Linked DNA regions of Homo sapiens: region 1 is linked to region 2. The links are contacts of gene promoters, found by promoter capture Hi-C in blood cells and fetal thymus (Javierre and others, 2016). All regions are on one chromosome and are shown on one strand. Each heading gives the region's core, a stretch centred on a gene start or on the middle of the fragment in contact. The rest is flanking DNA. Distances are from core to core; before and after follow the strand shown.

What was found. The method cuts DNA at HindIII sites, captures the fragments that hold promoters and counts their contacts. A CHiCAGO score of 5 or more calls a contact.
Region 1: a contact is called between a fragment that was not itself captured here and the fragment with the promoter of MRPS17 in region 2, in 5 of 17 cell types (total CD4 T cells, total B cells, naive CD8 T cells and 2 more). The highest score is 7.6, in total CD4 T cells.

What each region holds. Positions count from the first base shown.
Region 1 is chr7:54,775,484-54,778,183 of GRCh38, reverse strand. All of the region lies in intron 1 of SEC61G-DT (SEC61G divergent transcript), which reads right to left. Among named protein-coding and RNA genes, the nearest start is that of SEC61G-DT, 18 kb to the right of the region's middle. The HindIII fragment of the contact is 168 bases long and covers 1,359-1,526 here.
Region 2 is chr7:55,950,458-55,953,157 of GRCh38, reverse strand. It overlaps MRPS17 (mitochondrial ribosomal protein S17), which reads right to left and starts at 1,281. Exons shown (of 3, transcript NM_015969.3): 1 at 1,228-1,281. RefSeq lists an enhancer at 1,169-1,228. The HindIII fragment of the contact is 16,512 bases long and covers 1-2,700 here.

The DNA of each region.
Region 1 (2,700 bases), core at 193-2,692, 1.2 Mb after region 2:
GATACCATTTCTAGTAAAGTTGGTCTTTCTCTCTGAATTTCAGTTACTTTTGAATCATGATTTTATTATTACTCATTCTGCTATTCTCCCATTCACTCAATAAATATTTTTTGATTGCCTTTCTACGTGCCTGGTATTATTGTAGTGGTAAACAAGATAAGCTCTGTTTCTTAATGGGGCTTATATTTTACTCAGGAGAGGCAGAAGAGCATGGCCCCAGGGACTCACTTCCTCCCTGCCTTTATATAATAGCTCAGCAGAGTACTTGGTAGGCGCTCTACCCGAGCCTAATAGGAGGACGGGTCAGTGTCTGGTTGCCAGGTTCTGGAGGACCTTCCCTTCCAACAAGGCCACTTTCTCAACTAGAGAACGTGTGTGGTCCCACAGATATCCCCTGCTCCCTTCTCTTAAATACACACCATAAATATACAGAGCATCATGGGGACATTGTCCTTCCTTGCTGGTGCCTTGGCCCTGATGCACCAGACTGTGTATATCCTGTCTAAGAGCTAAGGAGTAACACGACTTAAGGAGACCGTGCAACCCACTACTTCTTGGCTTGTTTTCCTCCAGTAAACTCTATTTTACACCTGAACTTTGTGGTGCTGGAACAAATAAATAAAGACAATTTTCAACAGTGCTAAGTGTGATGAAGGAAATGAAACGTTGCCATGGCTTACACAGGGGCTGAGGCTAAGTGAGGACTACTTCAGTTGGGACAGCCGGGAAGACCTCTTTGAGGAGACGGTGATAGAACCAAAGCAGGAATGATAAAAGGCAGCAGCTGGGTGTAGAAAGACGATTAGAGCACAGGACAAGCACGTGGGGAGGCCTGGATGATAGTAGGAGCTTGACACACGTGTGGTCGGAAAGAGCCAGAGCACAGCCAGTCAGGGGAAGAGAGGGAGCCGGGGGTCTTTGGAGGGTAGATTTGACTCCAGCTACAGCAAGCAGCTACGCGAGAAGTGAAAGTGAAGAGTTAACATGATGTGATGACCATATTTAAAAGTTTAAGTCTTGGATGTCGGGGAAAATGGCACACAGGGCCATGAATGAAGGCAGAGAACCTAGCCAGGAAGCTGTCACCATGGCCCAGCAAGAGCAAAGGGCAGAGGAGCAAACACCATTGACTGCAGTGAGAGGTAGAGGAGAGGACGGGTCCCAGATGCAGAGAGAGTGAGTGCTTTTAGTCCCTGTGTGCATGATCACAGAAAATCATGTAAAAGTTGCCACTGACAAAAAAAAAAAGAAAGAAAGAAAGAAAGAAAAAGAAAAAAATATATAGGAGGCAATAGGAAATGAAGATGGGCAAAGACTAGAGAATCTCATGTAAAACGGGAAGTCCACAAGGCCAAGCTTTGACAAAGCAAGTGGTTCTGAAACATTCTTGGAACATTGGTAACTCTCCAGCTTGCTGGCTGCGGCCCCCCAGGGGCTCTAGCAAGCTGGTGCTCACTGCAAAAGCATGGCCGAATAGTCTTCAAACCTGGATTTCAAAAAGGGAGACAGACAAGATAACCAAAGCTTGTGAGAAGCAAACTCACTGCGTTTACGGGTAAGATCAGGAACTGAGGCCTAGCTGACTTGGAGGGTTGCCACTAGAACTGATCTCAGAAACGGAGTTTATCGGGGGACCTGCCCTGATAATCACGTGGGTTCTTTTCTATTTTTCCTAAGCGTCGGCCGGCTTGAGAAATAAAGGGACAGAGTACAAAAGAGAGAAATTTTAAAGCTGGGCGTCCTGGGGAGACATCACACGTTGGTAGGATCCATGATGCCCCACAAGCCACAAAAACCAGCAAGTTTTTATTAGGGATTTTCAAAAGGGGAGGGAGTGTGTGAATAGGTATGGGTGACAGACATCACGGACTTAACAGGGTAATAGAATATCACAGGGCAAGTGGAGGCAGGGCGAGATCACAGGACCACAGCACCCAGGCGAAATTAAAATTGCTAATGAAGTTTCAGGCACCATTGTCATTGATAACATCTTATCAGGAGACAGGGTTTTGTGATCAACTGGTCTGATCAAAATTTATTAGGTGGGAATTTCCTCTTCCTAATAAGCCTGGGAGCACTATGGGAGACTGGAGTATATTTCATCTCTGCAGCCTCGACCATAAGAGACAGGTGCACCTGGCGGGGGGGCTGTTTATAAGCCTATACCTCCAGGCGCACATTCTCTTTCTCAGGGACGTTCCATGCTGAGAAAAAGAATTCAGAGATATTTCTCCCATTTGCTTTTGGAAGAAGAGAAATATGGTTCTGTTCTGCCCAGCTCACCGGCGGTCAAGAGTTTAAGGTTATCTCTCTTATTCCCTGAACAATTGCTGTTATCCTGCTCTTTTTTCAAGGTGCTCAGATTTCATATTGCTCAAACACACATGCTGTACAATTTGTGCAGTTAACGCAATTATCACATGGTCCTGAAGCGAAATACATCCTCCTTGGCTGACAGGATTAAGAGATTAAAGTAAAGACAGGCATAGGCAAGCACAAGGGTATTGACTGGGGAAGTGATAAGTGTCCATGAAATCTTCACAATCCACGTTCTTCTGCCATGGCTTCAGCCGGTCCCTCCGTTTGGGGTCCCTGACTTCCTGCAACAGGAGTTAGTCACAAGATTCCAGGGAAACCACAAACAAGAGGTGGGAAGCAAATTAATGACAGAGTGAAGCCCTCTGTGTCAGGCGCTTTGCA
Region 2 (2,700 bases), core at 32-2,531:
CTCATATTCTGGTGGTTATGATGCCACATGAATTTTGTCACAAGAACTGTCCAGGTTAGTCCAGAAACAGTTTTTTTCTTTTTCGTTCCCCCCTCCACCCAGAAACAGTTTTGTTTTGTTTTTTTTTAGATGTAGTCTCTCTCTGTCGCCCAGGCTGGAGTGCGGTGGTGCGATCTTGGCTCACTGCAAACGCCGCCTCCTGGGTTCACGCCATTCTCCTGCCTCAGCCTCCCGAGCAGCTGGGACTACAGGCGCCCGCCACAACGCCCGGCTAATTTTTTTGTATTTTTAGTAGAGATGGAGTTTCACCGTGTTAGCCAGGATGGTCTTGATCTCCTGACCTCGTGATCCGCCCGCCTCGGCCTCCCAGAGTGCTAGGATTACAGGCGTGAGCCACCGCGCCCGGCCATATGTATTTTTCTTTAGATGAAGTTTAGTTCTTTCGCCCAGTCTGGAGTGAAGTGGCGCGATCTCGGCTCACTGCAACCTCCGCCTCCCGGGTTCAAGCGATTCTTCTCCCTCAGCCTCCCGAGTAGCCGGGACTACAGGCCCGCACCACCACGCCGAGCTAATTTTTGTATTTTTAGTAAAGACAGAGTTTCACCATGTTGGCCAGACTGGTCTCGAACTCCTGACCTCAGGTGATCCGCCCGCCTCAAGCCTCCCAAAGTGCTGGGATTAAGAGGCGTGAGCCACCGCGCCCGGCTTGAATCACCATTTCAGAGATGCTTACACGTTCCCCACTACCCAACCTCTCATCTTTACAGCGCTTACAAAGCGGTAACTTTAACTTCGCCAAGCCTCACGTTCCCCTTCTGCAAAATGGGCAGGCCTATTTCGCAGGAGTGCTTTGAGAATTTGACCCACAGAACGCTCAATACCACGGACAAACGCTGGACGTTACTGGTCCCTTATCTCTCTCCACCCCGCTGGGTCGCCTCTCCCCACAGGCTCAGTGCCCAGGTAGCACTCGGCGGGGCCGCCGCGGTGTCCCCCTCCCCGGCCCAGCGACGGATGACTTGGGCTGCTTTTGAGATCAGTTCACAAGCCATTCCACCAGGCTTCGGAAAGGTTGGGGTGATTCGTGCCCTCGCCCCAGACAACCCCGAGGTCAGACGAAGCGATTCGCTCTCAGGGCTCTCACGCGAGGGTGCCTTGGGTCCCCAGCAAATCCTCCCCCGGCAGCAATACCCCGGAGCCTGCCCTCACCTCCACCACGAGACTCACCTCCGCCAAGACTATGCAGCCACCTGCCCCGGGGAGCGCCGGTCGCAGCGGGATGGCGTCACGCCGTACGCATTGGCTCAGTCCCACACTACCCCTCTCGTAGGCCGTGCATCTCCTTAGCCGTGGGCGGAGTTAAAGGCAGGACCCCGCCCACTCTCCCTTAAAGGGACCCGCGGCGGTGGCGGGGTCGGGGGCGCTGACCTCTGGTTTCCTAACGCGCGCAGCTAGTGGACAGTGGCGCAGGAGGTTTCGGACTTTTCTTTCATTCTTTTGTTTTGTTTCTTTTTTTTTTTTTTTTTTTTGAGACGGAGTCTCGCTCTGTCGCCCAGGCTGGTGTGCAGTGGCGCGATCTCTGCTCACTGCAACCTCTGCCTCCCGGGTTCAAGCGATTCTTCTGCCTCAACCTCCCAAGTAGCTGGGATTACAGGCGTGCACCACCATGCCCAGCTAATTTTTGTATTTTTAGTAGAGACAGGGTTTCACATGTTGGCCAGGCTGGTCTCGAACTCCTGGCCTTAAGTGATCCAACCACTTTGGCCTTTCAAAGTGTTGGAATTACAGGCGTGAGCCACCGTGCCTGGCCTAAAAGTGTTTTTTTTTTTTTTTTTTTTGAGACAGGGTCTCACTCTTGTTGCCCAGGCTGGAGTGCAGTGGCATGATCTTGACTCACTGCAACCTCTGCCTCCTGGGTTTAAGGGATTCTCCTGCCTCAGCCTCCTGAGTAGCTGGGACTACAGGCATCTGGCACCACGTCCAGCTAATTTTTTTTATTTTTAGTAGAGACGGGATTTCACCATGTTGGCCAGGCTGTTCTTGAACTCTTGGCCTCAAGTGATCCACCTATTTCGGACTCCCAAAGTTCTGGGATTACAGGCATGAGCCACTGTGCCTGGCTGGTCCAGATTTACCTATACTTTCCCTGACCAGTTATTGTATCAGAAGTTTTTCAAACGAAAAATATCAGTGGGGAGTGGTACTTAGCAACAAAGCTCTGAGTGCTAGGTGAGCAACTTGCTACTGGGATTTTCCTGCCTGTAGGCTATTTCAGCAGATGTAGCTATCGATACATTGAAACATACACACACGCACACACACACCTACCTTTAAACAGCAGTGGGTTTCTTTCTTTTTTGGGACGGAGGCTGTCTCTGTCGCCCAGGCTGGAGTGCACTGGCGCGATCTCGGCTCACTGCAAGCTCCGCCTCCCGGGTTCACGCCATTCTCCTGCCTCAGCCTTCCGAGTAGCTGGGACTACAGGCGCCTGCCACCAGGCCGGCTAATTTTTTGTATTTTTTTTAGTGGAGACGGGGTTTCACCGTGTAAGCCAGGATGGTCTCGATCTCCTGACCTCGTGATCCGCCCGTCTCGGCTTCCCAAAGTGCTGGGATTACAGGCATGAGCCACCAGTGGGTTTCTTCTTTTGCTTCACCAGTTCCGTATTTTTATCTCCTTTCTTCCACAGTTAGAACTCTG